2 separate regions of the Homo sapiens genome follow, and region 1 is linked to region 2. The links are contacts of gene promoters, found by promoter capture Hi-C in blood cells and fetal thymus (Javierre and others, 2016). All regions are on one chromosome and are shown on one strand. Each heading gives the region's core, a stretch centred on a gene start or on the middle of the fragment in contact. The rest is flanking DNA. Distances are from core to core; before and after follow the strand shown. Region 1 overlaps MCPH1 (microcephalin 1). Region 2 holds the start of MCPH1 (microcephalin 1).

Region 1 (5,557 bases), core at 1,304-3,803, 190 kb after region 2:
CACTGTGCCTTGGACCAAGTCACTTCATCCCTTTGGGTTTGCGTTTGCTCCCCTGGAAGGTAGGGGAGGGGTGCAGTGAGCTCTGGCGTTCTTCTTAGACTCTGCTGCAGCTGCATGAGTGGGTCTATGGCACAGCCCCCTGCCTGCATCATGGCAGGTTATACACAGTAAAGAGATGAAAGGAATTTTTCTGCTAAGGGAAGTAGCCCCATCTGTCAGGATAGTTGGCTCCATTGTGTCTAACGTAGGTATCTTATAAGCCTGTACACATGGCAGCCAAGGGGACCTGGCCGCCAGAGCCGTAGGAGATGACCCAGCACAATGGGCTGGGCAGTAAGGAAGCCAGACTCTGGAGCCAGCGTGGAGGTGCAGGAGCTCGTGAGTATGAGGGCATGATGAGGGGTGCACAGAGGAACCCCTGGGCTAACAGGGGCCCAGGAGACAGTATTACGGCATTGGGCTTTGTATTGCCGGAGACCAGCACAGATCCCACAATGCAACGATGCCAAAAAACGGTAGAACTGAAAACCCCAGCCAGATCAACGCGAGAATAAATCTCTTTTCTGCTGAAATTGATAGCCTCCTAAAATGCTAAGACACATGCAGCGGAGAATAATCATTATTGACCATGAAATAGCTAAGAACCAGCTGAGAAAATACAGAAGGACACACAGTAAGAATGAATGAGAAAACTCTTGTATAGAGGATACGGTCAGAGTTAGCAACCAGTTGCTTCTTCATGTAAATTAAATCAGCGGAGAATCTAAAACCATCCCGTAGACCACATTTAGAGGGTAGGAAGGATGCAATGGGGCCAGGTGGGCAGGAGATGGGCTTAGCATCCAAGCAGGCTGGACTCACAGCCCTCTGCCTGGTGTGTGATCTCAGCACTTCTTGTACCTTATCTAAGCCTCAATGAAGGTAATAAAATCACCTGCCTATAAGCCTGCAGTGAGAATTAGAGGAGCAAATGGATGAGCCTCAGTCCTGTGTGGGGTCTGGCTGCTCACAAGGCACCATGGACGCCGTCTTTACCATCATCACTGTCGACCCGGAGCCAATGGTGAAAGCAGGACACAGGCAAGCCCCAGCGTTTCCCACCATTGTCTTATTTTTTCGGCTTCAGGAAGACATTAGACTTCTAGGAAGAGATTCCTTAAAGCCAGGACTAGAAGGTAGACTCCAGATTTTGGCTACAAGTGGCAAATATGTCTTGTAAGATGAATTTTATGTACTTGTGCCAAGTGCCATTGGAAATACCGAAGACTGTGCAAAAATAAAAGACAACAAACAGCCCCAGGAACCCGGAGCCCTCTCCCAGCCCAGAACATTCACCAGCTCGGCCAAGAGTTCTGCTGGGTTTTCTCTGGGGGCTGGTGCTGCTGTGGACACGACAACCCGGAACACGGAGGGAGGGCTCAGCGCTAGGAAGGGAGAGGGAATGAAGAGGAGTTTCCCTCTCTTTGCTAATTTCTTCGTCTCTGGGAACATTTCCTTCAACAGAGTCCTGCTTTTCTCATCCTCACACCTCACTGCGCCCCTCCTGAACCCACTCCTTTCTGAATATGGTCTACTGTCCTTCCGTGACCCACATCACCTTGGTCCTCTCCCTCATAAGCACATCCTAGGTGGGCCTGCCCTTCACTTACCCATCTCCTTAGAAGAAACGTGAGCTCTCCAAAGGGAAGGGCAGAACCCTGCTTGTTGGTCTTTCTGCCCCCAGCACTTGACCTAGAGCCTTGCACTGAGGACGTGCCACTCATGTCTGCTGAATAAACAGCCACATTTCCAGATGACGATGTCCTTTTCCAGCCAACATCAGCTCAGCGGGCCTTCACGTATTTAGTTATACTTGTGCCTCCGCTCAACAGGGTGAGGATGCTCCTGGACACAGAAATTAGCTCTGAGGCAGGAAGGAGGAAAGGGGATGCTTCTGGGAGGCAAAGGCGGTCAATCAGAGTGAGCACCAGAGACTCCGTGTACCTGGGAAATACGTGGGTTCCCACACCAGCCTTGGGGAGCCAGGGTGGGGAAGAGGGTCTGTAGAGCAAGTTTAGGATGCAGCACATGCCAAGCTTTTCAGAGTCTCACAGTCAGGAACAGAACTCATGCAGGGAGGGGAGGGATTGGAAAGTAGGAGGCAAAGCAGAAGCCCCGAACCCAAAGACAGAGCCGGCGACCGGCCAGAGTGCAGCTCTGAGCCTCAGACATGAGGGGAGAAGAAGGGGATGGGGTGGGGGGCGGTCGTGAGGAATGTCGTTGTCCAGGCTCCACCCGGCCCACCAGCTCCGCAGAGGAAGGAGTGGGCTGGGAGAGGCACACACCAGAACAGCTCTCCTCGGGGCAAAGCAGGCTTTCTTCCCGAACACCCAAGGCTTTCCAAAAGGTAAACACCATTTCCCCCAAGCGACCCCAATGTTTGCTGAAGCAAAACCTCTCGTGTGAGCCGGCGGGCGGCTTCACGACAGGCGTGAGAAGGCCATGGCCCTGTGTGGGTGAGGAAGCGCAGTGCGGCTCCCCCCTGCGTGGTGGGACTAAGAAGAGCCCCCTGCCACCCGAAAGGCGCCCTAACACTTCAGAGAGCGGATGGCTGCCGAGGGTGGCCAGGCTGGAGCTGCGGCTTCCCGCCCGATGCATTGCAGAATGTAACTTTCCAAAATGCATTGCTCTCATCTCAGCTCAGCGTGAAAACACATGTGTGCACACACGCACATGCAGCCCCGCTGAGCTGGGTGGTGAAAAGACCCTAATTAGTTCTGATTCCTTAAGGCATGTATTTTAAAAAGCGTGAAACCTATTGAGATGCTACTTCCTAGCGCGAATACGGGGCTCTTAAAAGTCCTGATAAAAGTGAAAATCCGAGGCGCGCCTGGGAAGTGGGAATGTTCCCTCCAACTCAGGCTTCCACGGTCATGAGTAGGAAGTCCTCTTCCTAATCTCAGTATCTTAAAAAGAAGCCTTGATGTTGTTACGTGATTACCTAAAAGGAATGCCTTCCTCCGCGGACCGGAAGGATATTTTTAAAGGAATGTGAAGCTTGTGACAGGAATTATCGATACCTTTGGAATTTTTTTTTCCAAGTGACTCAGGCTTACTTGAAGCCATTACCTCGGAGTTAGTCAGGGACTGCATGACGCCAGGCCCCAACTGTTTAAAGCAGAGCGCGGCTTAGTGAAAGAATGAAAAAACCGAGGATGTTCTTTGTCCATTATTCTCACCGTGATGAATGATGCTTGTTTTCCTCTCCACTTTAATTAGAATGTTTCTACATTTGCCAAAGAAAATGTTGGAATGGAGACAAAAACCTGAAATTATAGGAACAGGGCTTGATGTAATAGCTTATTTGTAAAGGAAACACAACTTGTTTGGCATTTTATTGAAACAGGAAGTTCAGAAGCTTAGTACACACAAGTACAACAAATTCTCAGGTGCTTGTTGAGTCATCTGTTGTTGGAAATAGTCTCCTGGTAGTTTTCCCCTTGATTTACTTTTTATCTTCATTTTGTTTTTTTGAAAGTAGTGAGGGTAGGAAGTTACAGAGAGATTCAATTAGAGATTATGTGTATTTTTAAAAATCAGCTATCAAGATTAAATAAAGCAAGCGGGAATTCTCTCCTTGCTCCCATATACCAATTTTTGTAATTATGTACAAGATGAGGGAAACCAAAGAAAAACAATAACTTGCTTCAATGCAATTACTAATTCAAAAGTAACCATTACTCTGGGGAATTGTATTAGAGATTAACAAAGAGGAAAAGTACTGTGGTTTTCTTTCTCTATGTTCTATTTGCTAGGAAGCGGTCAATAAAGTAACCTTTTCCCCACAGGAGCTGGTTAATAGTTCGCTTCATGCTAAATAAAAGTTACAGAAATATCTGGAGCTGAGTTGCTGGAGACACAGAAATCTTCAGGTTGGAATTTCTTGTCCTTTTCCAAAGGATTAGGCCAGGACATTGCTGTCAAATCTGCAAAACCTACTCATCCTGGCAAGAGTGCGGTATTTTTAAGACTCACTAGTGTGCTACTTCTAATAGTGCTTAGTCAGGGACCCCCAGGGGAGTGCAAGGGAGAGAGGGTCCCCAGCAGGGATGCCAGACCTTCTCTAGCTGGCCGTGGGTGCTGGCCTGGCCACCTGTAGCCCTCAGCGCACAGGTGGAGGTGTAACTGGTATTCCTGTGGGAGTGACAGTGTCCATCTTTGACATTTAAGAGCCTGCTCCTTCAGATACATTTACCATTGCCACCACTGGGGATTGGGGCGGCACTGGCCACCCTTGGCGGCACATCTCCAGCTTACAGCAGAGTCTGAGTGTCTCTAGCATACCTCTGACTGAGGCACGTTAGGCTTGTGACATCACATCTTCCTAGGTGGGGCAGGGACTTTACAATACATGTGACAAGAGAAAAACCTTACAGCTTTGTATTGAAAGATTTCTTAAGTTTTTAGTTTATTGACTAAATAACACTGAACAAAACGATTCTACTATGAAACGAAAGGATTGGACCTCTGTGAGGGTTGTGGCAATGTTTCAATAGCTGAGCAACGCAGGAGGCACACAGGCCATCGTTGGGGGCAGGTTGGAGGCCTTCAGTTCCTTTACAGCTATGGGCTCCCATCAAGGGTGAGTGCATTGAGGAGACATTGCCTAGAACTACTGGACAGACATCTCACCCAGGAGACGGGAGCATGGTACTTAACACACTTCCATGCACCGTTCAGAATCGCTAAACACAGCAGTGCAGAGGCAGATGACAAGGGCCATTACGGGGTCACCAAGGGAGGAAATAGGGACTGGAGCCCCCAGGAAGGAGAGCTGAGGCTCCCTGTGGGCTGGGGGCTGGCTTTGTGGCCCTGCAGCCAGCACCTGGAGATGAGAGACCTGTCCCTAGGCCTCCCTGCAGCCACCACCTGGAGACAGAGTCCATAGACCTCCCAGCTGTGCCCACCTGGGCAGCTGCACTTTCCAGAGGATTATTCCTGCAGCTTCCACCCTCACAGCTCTCAGCTGTCTTTGCAGGTGCATCTCTGGAAAACAGTTCTCATCAGGGCACCCTGTGCTTCCCAGTTTCTAGTCATTTCCCTTCTCTGAAGGTTCTAGTTCAGACTCTTGAGCAAAGCCTTCAAGACCTCTCCTTAAACTGCCCTCCTCCTCTTCCGTCCAGCCACCTGGTTGCCTCCTGGCTCTTCCTGCCCTAATACCGGCTGCCCGTACGGGACTGCTCACCTCCTGCAGGGAGCCGGACGTCTGTGGCGATCTCCCTCCCGCCATGACACCCCCTACCTGTCCTCCATCATATGGGACACACACACACACACACACACACCCCTACGCACACCCACACCCCACATGCACATCATACATGCCCACCAGAAATACACACACCATACACACCACCCACCCACATGCACACCATACATACACATACACACAACACAGACATTAAATACACATGCCACTACACACAGTGCATACCACACACAACACACACCACACACACACACCCAATCACATACCACATATACCCACACCACACACACACACACACCCAATCACGTA
Region 2 (5,561 bases), core at 3,062-5,561:
TCTTACTTTGTTTATCTTTGATCTCAGTGGTAGTAATTATACAGAGAAATTTTATGTTTCAATGGCAAACTATAACCCAGTTGTGTGAGTTATCAGACTCTAGTCTTGTTCATTGTCTTTGAGCAATTTTTTTACCTCTTTAAAAGCTGGATCCTGCCGGTCAGGCACGGTGGCTCACGCCCGTAATCCCAGCACTCTGGGAGGCCGAGGCCGGGGAATCACCTGAGGTCGGGAGTTCGAGACCAGCCATGACCAACATGGAGAAACCCCATCTCTACTACAAATACAAAATTAGCCCACAATCCCAGCTACTTGGGAGGCTGAGGCAGGAGAATCGCTTGAATCTGGGAGGTGGAGGTTGCAGTGAGCCGAGATTGCACCACTGCATTCCAGCCTGGGCAACAAGAGTGATACTCAGTCTCAAAAACAAACAAACAAAACAAAAAACAAAACAAAACCTGGATCCTGCCATCTTACATATTTTGTCAGTAATCAGTATTTCCAATTTTCCTCCCACTCTACTGACTTGACGTCACTGAGAACTAAAACTGATTCCTTCTCAAAGCCTTGCAAGCTGAAGCTGGATGGCTAGACAGAAACTTCAAAAGACTTATCACAACACGTGGGTCTTTCAAATATTTCCCCAGAACACCTGCATCTTCCAGACTGTGCTCTAGGAAATAACCATGATGGCAACACTACCTACCACTACCATCCTCACTAAAGATAGCTGGAGCCCAACATCTAGAAAATTTCATAACTGGCTTACCCTCTAGACTGGGTTTATCGTCTGCTCTGAACATTAATCATTGTTTTTGTTTCCTTGTTCTAATCTATGTTTTTCCCCCTTTTACAGATCTCTCATCTTACAATTTCTAACTCAAATCATCTCCCCACAGCAATCAACTTAGCTTCTTTTTTTTGTTAATGAAATTTCTAGGGAAGTTTCAGATGGAGAAATGTGTGGACCATTCAGGCCCTAAAAGTTGGTATAAAGATTATTTTACTGTGAAAATATTTGATCTAAGAAAGACGCATCAAGAAATTTTATTTGAACTTCCCTTATTTCACTAAAGCAGAGCCCCCAGAAAATACAGCTGCCATTGGCCTCCCTCTGAGGAAGTTTCCTGTAAATTCCACTACTGTAGAGACAGATTGCCCATTCTCATAAGCATCCAAAAGCCCAAAAGAACCTTCCACAACTTCCTACTGAAACTCCAAAATCTCCCAACACATTTTGTTAAGTGGATCTATAAACCTTTATTTCTATTTAGTGAGTTACTCTAAACCTTGTCTTTTCTCCTGTTAACCTGTTGTTATCAGTTAATTTGCAGGTCTTCAAACACAGGACCGACATTGAATGAGGAAAAGCTTTCCTTCCAACATAGACAATACGACTACCTGTAGAACATCATTTTGAATGTACAAAAAATTATTAAGCAGATTTAGCAAGTTTTCAGGACATGAGATCAATTGCAGATATCAACTATATTTCCATATATTAGCAACAATCAGAAACAAATGAAAAAATCACCATTTACGATATTATCAAAAAACACAAGACCTTGCACAGTGGCTCATGCCTGTAATCCCTACACTTTGGGAAGCTGAGGTGGGAGGATTGCTTGAGCCCAGGAGTTCAAGACCAGCCTGGGCAACATAGTGGGACTCCGCCTCTACAAAGAATTTAAAAAATGAATTGGGCATGGTCATGTGTACTTGTAGTCCCAGCTACTCAGGAGGTTGAGGTGGGAGGATAGCTTGATCCCAGGAGGGTCGAGGCTTCAAGATGAGCCATGATCACACCATTGCACTTCAGCCTGGGAGACAGAGTGAGATCCTGTCTCAAAAAAAAAAAAAAAAAAAAAAGAAGAAAAAAAGAAAAACAAAATAAAAAAACAAATACTTAGGTTAAAATCTAACAACAGTTATATTTTTTTTTTTTGAGATGGAGTCTCGCTCTGTTGCCCCAGGTGGAGTGCAGTGGCAAGATCTCTGCTCACTGCAAGCTCTGTCTCCCGGGTTCATGCCATTCTCCTGCCTCAGCCTTCCAAGTAGCTGGGGCTACAGGCGCATGCCACCACGCCCGGCTAATTTTTTGTATTTTTAGTAGAGATGGGGTTTCACTGTGTTAGCCAGGATGGTCTCAATCTCCTGACCTTGTGATCGGCCCGCCTTGGCCTCCCAAAGTGGCAGGCGTGAGCCACTGCGTCTGGCCAGAGAAATTTTAAAAGACCTAAATGTTAATGGGTCAGAAGATTCAATATGGTTAAAATGTCAATTCTCCCCAAATTCATCTGTAGAGTCAACACAATCTCAATCAAAATCCCAGCAGTATTTTTTTGTGCAAAATGAGAAGTCGACTCTAAGATTTAAAAGGAAATCTGAAGAATCTAGAAGATACAAAATAACCTTGAAAAATAAAGTTGTAGGACATAAACTATCTGATTTCATCACTTATTTATATAGCTACAATAATCAAAACAGCATGGTGCTGGCAGCAAAAAGACAAATAGCTCAATGGAACACAATAGGAAGCCTAAAATGAAACACATACATATGCAACACAGATTTTGATGTAAGCACAAAGGAAATGCAGTAGAGACAAAAATAACTTTTTAATAAATGATGCTGGAACATTTGGATATGTATACATGCAAAAAAATGAACTTTGGTCCCTATCCCATACCGTATACAAAAATTAATTAAAAGCAGATCTTATCCTTTGAGTCCAGTAGGTTGAGGCTGCAGTGAGCTGTGATTACACCACTGCATTCCAGCCTGGGCAACGGAGTGAGAAACTGCCTGGAGAAAAAAAAAAAAAAAAGTAGAACCTAGACCTGATATACAACCTAAAGCAGTAATATTTCTAGAAGAAATCCTAGGAGAAAATATTTGTGATCGTGGAGATGAAGAATCTATCAAATACTAAACTTTTTTTACCACCTTGACCAAAAGTAATTGGTTTATATACTTCATCATATCATTTAATTCAAAATCTACAGAGATCAATGTCACTTTCTCAGTAAAAGTACGTGAGTCTTCAATGATGCCCTGAACTCACACTCCCAAGTAAACCATAACACCATATTTCCAGAGTAGAGTTTATTAGAACAATAACTGGTGATAATGATAAATATTGATCAAAGACTGAGCCTAGGAAGTGGGTTTTTTGAGGCTGCATATACTCAAGGCAATTCTTCAGAACCACAGAGGGCTCATTGGATCCTATTAAAAGCTGAGAGTGAATGAATAAACAGATAAAACAGAGACCTGAGTAGACGGTAGTCGATATTCTTTTACATGTATTCTACCTCTAGATTCCATAGAAAGAACTAAAAGTACATGAATTTCACTACCAACATCTCCATCAGTTACCAGCTGTATCACCTTGGATCAGTCAGGTAACCTCCCGCGAATCTGGTTGCTTCCGGGGCAGGGGATCCGCGGGCTGCAGGTTTGAGCCTGGTTGCCGGCAGGGTGGAGCAGCTGGAGGGCCAAGCCTTTGAGCTCCAGGGGGGGTGGCCGGGACAGTGGGTAGTGCCAGCCGATCGGCGTCCTGGGGATTGCCTGAATGTGAGGTCTGGGTTCACCCCGCGGTGACCTGAGTCCTGGGATGCCCCTACAGGGATTTGCTGCCTCAGGGATCCGAAGTCTCTTTCATTCCCTTACTGGGGATTTGAGGTCTGGAGGTACTCCTGCGGGGGTCTGAGATCTCGGGGTCACCCTGTGGGGGTCTGAAGCCTCGGGGTCCCCGCGTGGGGTCTGAGGTATCAGAGTCCCCTCCGTTGGGTCTGAGGTCTCGGGGTCCCCCATCCCCGGGATCGGAGGTCCGGCTCCCCGGAGCAGGCAGGGCGGTGCGTCTGGCCCTGAACAGTAACGTGGCGCGCCAGCCCCAGGTGGTGTCGGGCTAGGGGGGCATAACGGTGCCGAAAGTCCGCACAAAGCCGTCCGCTGGGGTCCCGCCGCGTCCGCGAGGGAATGACTGTGCCCCCTCCCCTTCCTGATCCTCAGCTCAGGTGAGCCCAGATGAGGCGCCGGGTAGCTTCTAAGTCACTAATGGAAATAGAAGGCTAATTCAGGGGTTAGGGGCCGTCGTCCTCCTTACTCCCAGGAGAAGAGAAAAACCCACGGCCCAGCAGCCAGAGGCGCGGCGAGGCGGAATCGGGCCCCCTCCCCGGGGGCTCAGCTCCCTCCAGCCTCCCGCCTCACCTACAGAGAAATCCCGGAAACGCGGATTCAGCGGAGCGCGGTGACGGCGGCGCGCTCACCCCGCGCATGCCCAGTGCCCGCGCGCGCCGCCAGGCTCGCAAGCACCGCGTAGGCCAGCTGGCCGGATCCCGCCGTCTGTCATGGCGGCCCCCATCCTGAAAGGTGAGGTACTTCCTGCTGCCTGCTCCAGCAGCGGGAGTTTGAGGACCGGCACCCCTCGTCGCGGGCGCACTCGGGGGATCCCGTGGGAGGAGCCCCGCTCGCCCCTCCCTCGCTGCCTGTCTCCCCCAGACCCCCTGCCGCCTCCTTCCTCCCCCGCTGCCTGTCCCACCAAAACCCCCTGCTCCTGCTCTCTCCCCCGCTGCCTGTCCCCCCAAAACCCCCGGCTGCCTGCTTCGTCTCCCGTGCTCCCTGTCCCCCCAAACCCCCGACTGCCTGCTTCCTCCCCCGTACTGCTTGTGCCCCAACCCCCGTGCTGCTAGTTCCCCTCAATCCCCCGCTGCCTGCTCCCTCCCCCATGCTGCCTGTCCCCCAAATCCCGCCTTTCCCCCTACCTGCTTTCACCCCTGCTGCCTTAGTCCCTGGATCTGGGGCTCACTGGCAGGCAGAGTCCTGCCCTCCGGAAGTTGGTGTGGGGCCCTCCTGGGTCTGGTCCTGTTCGACCCCCTCTGAGGCCCACCTGGAGGAGCGGCAGTTGAGTTTCTATGCTAATTGTTCCAATAATAGGAGCCGCCTTTTACTGCGGAGTCTTTGTGTGCCAGGCGCTGTGCTTAGGCTAGTATGGTATTGTCTGATTTTTTTAACCGCTCTATCAACTCTCTTATATCATTTTACAGGCAGAAACTAAGGCATCGGACGTTTAGGTGACTCTCCCTGTGTGTGGCTAGTCAGTGCTGACAGGGCCTTAGACCGGAGCTGCTGTCCTAACCAGTATATGATACCGCACGCAGTCCCACCCTCTGTGCACCTGGAAGAGCCCAGGAGAGGGGAATAGCGGACACGTGTCTTGTAGAGTTTGACCGTGAGAAAAAAGGGGCCTGTATTGTGGGGCCTGGAGTCATAAAACCTCATAGCCAAAAGTAAAGACTAGAGGCTTTATACAAAGTCTGTAATCAGATGTGGCTATTTTTCTAATGTTAGTATTTTGTTAAATTAACCTGGTTTTCTTTTAGCGTTACCCCCAATCATTGACCAACGGCACACCTGGAAAATGCTTTTAAACATCAGGTTTTGAGAAGAGGATATCCACTAGAACAGGGGTCCACTCACTATGCCCCCCAGGCCATATCTAGCCTGCTGCCTGTTTTTGTAAGGGTCTACGAGCTAAGAATGTCTTTTACATTTTTAAG

The links. Contacts are between HindIII fragments. The CHiCAGO score rates a contact against its expected background, and 5 or more counts as called.
Region 1: a fragment that was not itself captured here is called in contact with the fragment with the promoter of MCPH1 in region 2 in 7 of 17 cell types (total B cells, fetal thymus, non-activated CD4 T cells and 4 more); the score reaches 8.2 in total B cells.

The regions. Positions count from the first base shown.
Region 1 is chr8:6,596,223-6,601,779 of GRCh38, forward strand. The region is part of intron 12 of MCPH1 (microcephalin 1); the gene reads left to right. Among named protein-coding and RNA genes, the nearest start is that of MIR8055, 23 kb to the right of the region's middle. RefSeq lists an enhancer at 2,365-3,564. The HindIII fragment of the contact is 961 bases long and covers 2,074-3,034 here.
Region 2 is chr8:6,402,316-6,407,876 of GRCh38, forward strand. It overlaps MCPH1 (microcephalin 1), which reads left to right and starts at 4,312. Exons shown (of 14, transcript NM_024596.5): 1 at 4,312-4,374. The coding sequence starts at 4,353. MCPH1-DT (MCPH1 divergent transcript) reads right to left here and starts at 4,233. Exons shown (of 2, transcript NR_040040.1): 1 at 3,391-4,233; 2 at 1,241-2,805. RefSeq lists silencers at 4,054-4,133, 4,394-4,573. The HindIII fragment of the contact is 9,682 bases long and covers 1,370-5,561 here.